Regions from separate parts of the Homo sapiens genome. Here all the other regions are linked to region 2. Evidence: promoter capture Hi-C in 16 types of primary human blood cells and fetal thymus (Javierre and others, 2016). All regions are on one chromosome and are shown on one strand. The core of a region is centred on a gene start or on the middle of the fragment in contact, and the rest is flanking DNA. Distances in the headings are between cores, read along the strand shown. Region 1 holds the start of CR1L (complement C3b/C4b receptor 1 like). Region 2 holds the start of MAPKAPK2 (MAPK activated protein kinase 2). Region 3 overlaps CR1 (complement C3b/C4b receptor 1 (Knops blood group)).

Region 1 (3,017 bases), core at 230-2,729, 960 kb after region 2:
CATTTTAGGTTTATACACTAAGCATCTAATTCCTCACTATCCTCTCATACAAACCCTGTGTAATACAAGTTCTACTCCCATAATTCTATGAACAAAACAACAATTGATACATAGATTTGATTTTTAAAATACATTTTCTTTACCTTATTCTAAATGTAACATAGGGTCAACATAGAAAAAGAAAACTGAAAAGCACAAGGAAAGTGAAATATCTATAATCTTAACCATTGTTAATTTTGTTGTGTTCCAAATTAGTGTATGTATATATATATATATATATATAGCATTTTTGTTTTAATAAAAGGACTGCCAAAATGCACATGCCAATTTGGACTCTGCTTTTTCCACTTACAATGATATCATAGTTTCTCACATTTGGTATTCTTTTGCAATACTTGCTGCATAGAATTCCATCACACAAAGGTAACTGCCTCCTTATTACTTTTGCTAGACACTTAGGGTTTACATTTTTTACAAAAATTATAAATCTTTGATCACAGCTCTGATGATTTCTCTGGGAACTGAGAGCCTAACACAAGTCATTTCCACTTTAAGACTTTTAACATTCTGAAAAGTTATGTTACAAACAGAGTGCTGGTCCCCCTGCAACATGTTCACTCACATTGGCTGACGTTTTAATTCTTTGCCAATCTGAGGGGAAGAGATGTCAACTTTTTTTGTTTGCTCTTTTAATGCCAGTCATGTTCCCTTTTTTTTTCCCCCTTTTACCAGTCATACTGGCTTACTCAGAACCCTACAAATCAATCCTGCTCATTCTTAATTTTCCAACATTGTTCCTGAGATTGTTTCACCAGAAAAGTTCTCCCCCTTATCCACTTCGCCTAACAATTTCTACCCATCCCAATCCTCCTGCATTTATTGCTTCCAGGAATTTGGCACTTAGGACACCCTTGTCCTTACATTGTTCATGCATGTATATTTCGTCTTCAATAAAACATTTAGTTGCTCAAGGGCAAGGGTCCCATAGAGTCTCAATATGCTAACGGCCTGGTGTTGCTTAATAATTTAGATTCTGACGGGTCCTCTCCAGGGAGGGGAGCAAAGGGCAAATTATCTTAGGGGCTGGGAGTGCAGAAGCCAAACCTTTGAGACTGTGAAAAGAAGACGGCGCCGAGACGATTCAGTAGCAGGCATTCAAGCAAGAAAAACTCAAATATTGTTCCCAATAATGCCTGACTAATGCCAAATACCAAGTAAGGGCCCAGGCAGTCCTGACAGCCTGCAGTGCCCCAGGATAAAACTAACCCTGAGGGGTGCTAGCCCACGATAACCCCCTGCCAGGGCTCTGGACACGCCCTGTCTCCTCGAAGGCCAACGGGCTGCCCCTGCGCGCCGAGGCCCCGCCCCGCGGCCCGCCGATTGGCCCCAGCCGCCCCGGCGCTAAGACTCAATTTCACACTACGCGCCCAGGCCACGCCCACCTGTCATGCGGCCCTGGAAACTGTGAGTTTGGGGATTGTTGTGTCCACTAACCGGACTCAGAAGGGACTTCCCTGCTCGGCTGGCTTTCGGTTTCTCTGCTCACCTCCGGATAAATCACGGGGTCTCCCGCGCCGCTCATGGCGCCTCCCGTCCGTCTCGAGCGTCCCTTTCCTTCCCGGCGCTTTCCTGGGTTGCTTCTGGCGGCCCTGGTGTTGCTGCTGTCCTCCTTCTCCGGTAGGACCCCGGGGTGGATTCGCGCGTCCGCGGCGAGGCTAGAGCTCTGCTCAGTCAGTCGGGCAGGAGGCGCGGGGCGAAGCTCACTGCACGTCGTGCCTGCTTGGGATAGAGAGCGAGGCCAGGGTTCTCCGAGGGGTGCCGTGCTCAGATCCCGGGGGTATGTGGCGGGGGATGCGGGAACCACGCAGAAGCTTGTTTGGTGGCATCGTGTGCGCGGCCGACATTTACGCAGGATCTGGCTGCGTTCCCAAAAGAAGCGTGAATCGTGTTTTCGGGATTGAGCCCAGTCAGCAAGGGGAGGGCTTACTGGGCGCCCCAGGTGAGGGCTTGCTCTGGAGTGCACAGGTGCGTGGGATTGTTGCTAGAGCCCGTGCTGTGCCCGTGGTGAGAGTTTGCCCTGTGTTCCCTTGGTGCCTTGGTGAGTAGGGTGTTCATTAGGGCTTGGACAGTACCCGCGGTAAGGGTTGCAGTGCGTCTGCTGTGCCCCATGGGCTGGGCTGGCCTGGGCTGGGCTGGGCGAGCAGGGGCCTGGCCAGGTGTTGCTGGGAGCGTGCTGTGCGCAAGTGGCCTGTGTGCGGAGTTCACTGTGGGCAAGACAGCTCACTGTTTGCTTTGAGTGGAGCGAGCGCGGACTCTGCGGCTAGGGAGGGCATGTTGAGTGAGAGCAGGCTCTCAGTGCCTGGGGTTAGAGAGGTGGTAAGGGCGCACCATGCTTTTAGTGCCTTCTGTGAACAGTGTCCGTGTTGCCTGAGATCGTATTGGTCTTGAATTTTAAGTGGCTGCTTTTTTGGGGGGTGGGTGGGCCATCGAGTCATCTTCCTGTTCCCAACCAATATAGACAGTATCTGATTCCATTGCCTAGTGGCTTTTTGACATTGTTTTCCTTCTTTTCATTAGTTTGAGTCATATTTGAGAGATGTGAAGCAACCTAAAAAACACTGGTAGCCAAACCTAGTGAGAAATTAGTATCCTAACAAAGGAAGGCAGATAATGTTAATCTTGTTTTCCCCTACAGCTCATAAACTGAAGCTTAAGGCCTATCCCACTGTTTTGTATTTCATTGAATGGAATCAATATTTTTAAAAATGCATGCTAGGCCAGGCCCAGTTGCTCACACCTGTGATCCCAGCACTTTGGGAGGCCCAAGTTGGGTGATTGCTTAAGCCCAGGAGTTCAAGATCAGCCTGGACAACATGTCAAAACCCCATGTCTACAAAAAATAAAAAAATTAGATGGGCATGGTGGTGTATGCCCGTGGTCCCAACTACTCCAGAGGCTGAGGTGGGAGGATCGCTTGAGCCCAGGAGGAGAAGACTGCAGTGAGCTGTGATCATGCC
Region 2 (2,724 bases), core at 94-2,593:
TGTTTGTGTCGGGGGAAACATGTCTCTCCTTGGTCCACAGAGCCCTACCTGCCCCAGGAAAGGACAGTGTTGGGAGGGTAACTCCCACCCCTCACTCCTCCCCCTCATTCCTGCCTCCACAAGCATCTTCTGGGAAAGGTGAATGAGGGAAGAGACATTTGCACTTGTCCCTTACCTACCTAAGTTCTATCCCCAGTGGCCACTTCTGGGGGTGTTGTCTTCTCTCTGGAGTTTTGGGGGACCTATTAGGGGGCATGTGTGGCCATAGGTCAAGCCTCATTCTCTAACTGGCCTTACCAAGACTTAAGCTGAGGTTTTGTGTTCACCTGTCTGGGTTGCTTGCCATTTCTCAAATGTTCTGCCAGTCAGAGGTGGGAGGAGGTCGGCAGGAATGTACTTGGTCATCTCGAACCCCATCAGAATGTGTGTGGAGGCCTCCTGGCAGCTTCTATGCAGGGTCCAGCTAGATCCCTGGGCTTTTCCTGAGATACACGGGGCTAACCCACTTCTTACGGATTAATTTTTCCACATCGGAAATCAGAAGCCATTCCCCAGGGCCTCCCCTTCAGTTTCATTATCTCCTTTGACTCTGCCCACAACCTTTGAAAAGGTCTCGCTGTTCTTCCCACGGAGAGAGAGGTGCAAGGCTTGCTCAGCCTCACACAGCCAATCCGTGGCAAAGGATGGCGGGAATTCAGGTGGCCCCAATCTCAACCCATCCTCTTCCCACCCTGTATCCTTTTTAGTTTATTTACAGGAAAACATGTTCAAAGGTATAATTACTAAAGTGCTCCTGGTTACACAATAATACGTCTTTACTGAAAAACAATAAATTAATGAGAAAAGAGATGCAAAAAACCTCAGAGGAAAATGTTGAAGTTAGGGAAATATTTAATACGCCCGCCTTTGGCTCACACCTTTTCCTGGGATGAATGACCCCTGTGATTCCAGCTCCCCCCCACCCCCACGAGGTCTCATCTAGCTGGATACCTACAAGCCATCCCTGTCCTTGGAAATACACCCCTCTCCCAATTCGCTGCCGCTAAGAAGCCCAGACAATTGGAGAGGAGTGGATTTTCCATCTGAATTATGCAGCTCCTTTGACACGCCTCCCCTCTCCCTTTGCATAGCCTTGGTTAAGAACTAGCATTTCTTCGTCCCCTCTCCCTGTCCCCTCTCACTGTCCGCGAGGCAGCAGCCCCCAGCCTACTCCGCGATCCTCCCAGCTCCCGGCACCGCGCGTCCTCCCCTTTAAGGCCCGCCCCTCCCCCCACGCCACGCCTCCCCAGGCCCCGCCCCCCGCCCCTCCCCTTTAAGGACCGGCCCCGGACGCAGACGAGGCTGTGACGCGGCCGCCGGCCCGGGGCTGGGTACATTGTCGCGCGGCCGCTTCCCCCCGGCCGGGCCCCCGCCGCCCCGCGGTCCCCAGAGCGCCAGGCCCCCGGGGGGAGGGAGGGAGGGCGCCGGGCCGGTGGGAGCCAGCGGCGCGCGGTGGGACCCACGGAGCCCCGCGACCCGCCGAGCCTGGAGCCGGGCCGGGTCGGGGAAGCCGGCTCCAGCCCGGAGCGAACTTCGCAGCCCGTCGGGGGGCGGCGGGGAGGGGGCCCGGAGCCGGAGGAGGGGGCGGCCGCGGGCACCCCCGCCTGTGCCCCGGCGTCCCCGGGCACCATGCTGTCCAACTCCCAGGGCCAGAGCCCGCCGGTGCCGTTCCCCGCCCCGGCCCCGCCGCCGCAGCCCCCCACCCCTGCCCTGCCGCACCCCCCGGCGCAGCCGCCGCCGCCGCCCCCGCAGCAGTTCCCGCAGTTCCACGTCAAGTCCGGCCTGCAGATCAAGAAGAACGCCATCATCGATGACTACAAGGTCACCAGCCAGGTCCTGGGGCTGGGCATCAACGGCAAAGTTTTGCAGATCTTCAACAAGAGGACCCAGGAGAAATTCGCCCTCAAAGTAGGTCTGGGGCCCGGGGAGGGGAGGCGGGGCCGGTCCCGGGCCCTGGAGCTCCACGGCGTCGGGTGCCCGTCCCGGCCTGGGTCGCGGCGCGGGGCGGAGGGGTGGCCGCGGCGGGGCGGGGCGGGGCGGCCGGGCCGGCGGTGCCGAGTGCGGCGCGGGCGGCGGGTCCCAGCGCCCTCGCCTCCCTGACCGCTTCCGGCCGCTCCCGGGCGGGAGCCCTGGGACCCGCTCCTGGGGACTCAGGGGACCCTGCCATTTTGGGGTTTGAGCGGGATCCAGCCGAGTCAGAACGGTTGGCTTCGGGACTTCTGCTAATTTCACTCCATCTCAAGGAAGTGATTTTGGGGTTGGTGGTTCCCCGTCCTCTCCTCCCTCCTTTTTCTCTCTCTGCGGGCACAAAAGGCCCATTACTCATTGAGCCGGTTGGTCGGTTGGTTTGGAGAAGTCGGATCGCAGAGGTTTATTTAGCCTCGCTCCTTATTTGGGAGCCGGAATGTGTGATTTCACTTCCCCGAGCCTCGCGAGGGCAGCCGGGCCGCCTTGGGGCGCGCCGGGCAGGAGGTGTGCGGCGGGAGGGTCCTGGGTGTCCCCCGGCTGCGGGGGCGGGATTATTTGGATCCCGGAGCTGGCCCCCTCAGCTGGCCCCCTCCCACGCCCGCGCGGGGCGGCTCCGGGGAGAGGCCGGCGGTGTCCGCGGCCCGGCTGATCATTGTGAACAGAGTCTGTAACCCGCGGCCGGGCCCGTGCTGATTCCGCCTCCTAGAGAGGGCCACT
Region 3 (2,781 bases), core at 40-2,539, 810 kb after region 2:
TAGATTAGCTGCAAATAGATATTGCAAATGTAGGACAACCCCTGAAAAATGTGAAAAAAAGAACTATAATTTATATGTTAATAAGTAAGAGAGAATTGCATCATATAAAATGCTCAGTTAAAACAATAAAGATGGCTGGGGACAGTGGCTCATGCCCATAATCCCAGCACTTTGGGAGGCTGAGGTGGGTGGATCACCTCAAGTCAGGAGTTCAAGACCAGCCTGGCCAACATAGTGAAACCCTGTCTCTACAAAAACACAAAAATTACCAGGGCATGATGGTGGGTGCCTGTAGTCCCAGCTACTCGGGAGGCTGAGGCATGAGAATCGCTTGAACCTGGGAGGCGGAGGTTGCAGTGAGTCGAGATCGTGCCATTGCACTCCAGCCTGGGTGACAGAGCGCAACTCCAAATCAAAAAAAAAAAAAAAAGAAACAAACAAACAAAACAAAAAACAATAAAGGGCAGGAAAAGAATGGAAGACAAAAAATAGAAACAGAGAACAAGAGAAAAAAAGCAACAAATAAAAACCAGTAACAAAACTAAAGCAACTATATCAACAATCATTTTGAGTGTCAATGATCGAAATGCACCATTTGAAACAGATCATCAGAGTGGATCAAGAAACAAGACCCAACTATATACTGTGTACAACAAGACCGTTTTAAATATAGACAATATATATGAAAAGTAAATGGATAAAGATATACCATGCTAATGCTAGTCACAGAAAGCAGGAATAGCTGTGTTAATTTCAAACACAGCAGACTTCAGACCAAGAAAAATTATTAGGGATAAAGAGGGGCATCATATAATGATAAAGGGGCCAATTATCCAAGAAGACGTAACAATATCCCATATGTATGCACCTGATGGAGAGACAAAATACGTGAGGCAAAACCCATAGAACTGCAAGGAGAAATAGATGGATTTACTATCATAGTTGGAGACTTCTATGATATCTTTCTGATATCAGAAAAGGTGCTGAAGTCTCCTTATCAGAAATGGGCAGATTCAGCAGGCAGAAAATCCGTAAGGACATACTTGAATTCAACAGCACCATCAATCCACTTGGGTATAATTGACATATATAGATGACTTCATCCACAACAGCAGAGCACATATTCTCCCGCTTACATTCATGGGGATAGACCACATTCTGAGCCATAAAATAGTACACGAATTAAGCTTTACCAGGCAGTGTTTAATATAGGGTGGACTCTGGCGCCCTCACGTGGTCCTCATATAGGATCTGGTTTGGTTATCCCTGCTAGGTAAAGGTGCAAGATAGAAGGGAAGTTCCAATTTGCTTTCTGTGCTTTGTGGTGTATTTTGGTTTACATATGCTCAGATGAGTGGATGTGTGATTTATATTATCTATTTTAATCTAAAATAAGCTTCACATTTGGACAGGTAACATCAAAAGTGTCCTACACAGAAATGCTGGGTGAAGATCCCAGTAATAAAACCAACTCCAGAAAACAAGAAAATGGTAGAGTTGACAATCCCTCTCACCCTCTCCGCAAAGACACATGTATACACATTTTTTGTCAGAGGCATTAAGTAGAAGAAATGCTGTCAGTCTAATCACAACTGATCACAACTCGATGAAACCAAAAAACCTAGAAAGTATCATGAAGACTGTCGAAATAAGCTTTACATTCACTATTGTGAACAGAGAGACTCAATGTGACTGTTTTTTGTCCCGTTAGATGTTAGCTAATGATTGTGCTAAGTCATGATGATTAACAAAGCATTTAAAATATTTATTTTATCTGTGTTACATTTCAAAAATTTATATTGAGGCATATAATTTATGTTCGTGTACATATATAATTTATAAATTTATATATTTGAAAGGGCATGCTCTTTTTTTAAACTGATAGAGGTGCCTAAGCAAAGCAAGTGCAAATCTATTCCTTAAAGGGTAAGTATGCAGAATGGAAAGCAGAGTGTTCTTTGGGTTGACAGCTCATATTGCAACAGACATGAAAGTGATGATGTGTTAATTGTGCATATAGCACAGAATACATCAACTTGCTTTGAATGGAATATCTGAACCAGGAGAATGTGAAAGTGGGCTGAGTCATACAAGACAAAACCCGAAATGAGATAACAATACATACCCACTAGAATGACTAAAATGAAAAAGATTGACCGAGCCAAGTGTTGGCGATAAGGTGGAGTAACTGGAATTATAATATACTGCTATTTGGCAGGTAAAATTATAACATTAACTTTAGAAAATAGTTCAACAGATTCTTAAAACCTTAGACACACACTCAACATTTTACTCTTAGGTTTTTACCCAAGAGAAATGAAATCATATGTCCACACAAAGACTTGTACATGAATTTTCATAGCAGTTTTGTTTGTAATAGCCAACACGTGGAAACAATCCAAATGTCCCTCAACAAGTAAATGGATAAACTAAATTAAGATATATTTATGCAATTGAATATTACCCAGCAACTAAAGGAAACAATTTGTATACATGCAGCAACCTAGATGGATCTCTAATTATGCTGTGTGAAGGCTAAACCATAAAAAAAAACCTGAGTGATTTCCTTTATACAATAGGATATAAATGAAGTGATTTAGGTTATATGAAATTTTAGAAAGTCAAATCAATCTGTAGTAAGAGAAAACCACCTGAGTTATTTCCTTTATATGATAGGATATAAACGAAGTGATTCGGGTTATATGAAATTTTAGAAAGTCAGATCAATCTGTAGTAAGAGAAAACACATTGAAGGTTGCCTAGAGAAGGAAGTGGATGTTT

The links. The method cuts DNA at HindIII sites, captures the fragments that hold promoters and counts their contacts. A CHiCAGO score of 5 or more calls a contact.
Region 1: the fragment with the promoter of CR1L here is called in contact with the fragment with the promoter of MAPKAPK2 in region 2 in 8 of 17 cell types (erythroblasts, naive CD8 T cells, naive CD4 T cells and 5 more); the score reaches 9.1 in erythroblasts.
Region 3: a fragment that was not itself captured here is called in contact with the fragment with the promoter of MAPKAPK2 in region 2 in 2 of 17 cell types (total B cells and fetal thymus); the score reaches 6.1 in total B cells.

Annotation. Positions count from the first base shown.
Region 1 is chr1:207,643,654-207,646,670 of GRCh38, forward strand. It overlaps CR1L (complement C3b/C4b receptor 1 like), which reads left to right and starts at 1,480. Exons shown (of 12, transcript NM_175710.2): 1 at 1,480-1,677. The coding sequence starts at 1,581. It also overlaps the pseudogene CD46P1. RefSeq lists a silencer at 1,280-1,449 and an enhancer at 1,510-1,589. The HindIII fragment of the contact is 2,525 bases long and covers 1-1,869 here.
Region 2 is chr1:206,683,562-206,686,285 of GRCh38, forward strand. It overlaps MAPKAPK2 (MAPK activated protein kinase 2), which reads left to right and starts at 1,344. Exons shown (of 10, transcript NM_032960.4): 1 at 1,344-1,947. The coding sequence starts at 1,669. It overlaps LOC124904495 (a long non-coding RNA gene), which reads right to left and starts at 1,245. Exons shown (of 3, transcript XR_007066833.1): 1 at 180-1,245. RefSeq lists silencers at 1,320-1,499, 1,960-2,009, 2,020-2,109, 2,520-2,609. The HindIII fragment of the contact is 16,303 bases long and covers 1-2,724 here.
Region 3 is chr1:207,498,464-207,501,244 of GRCh38, forward strand. The region is part of intron 1 of CR1 (complement C3b/C4b receptor 1 (Knops blood group)); the gene reads left to right. Among named protein-coding and RNA genes, the nearest start is that of CR1, 3.7 kb to the left of the region's middle. RefSeq lists an enhancer at 1,097-1,156. The HindIII fragment of the contact is 209 bases long and covers 1,186-1,394 here.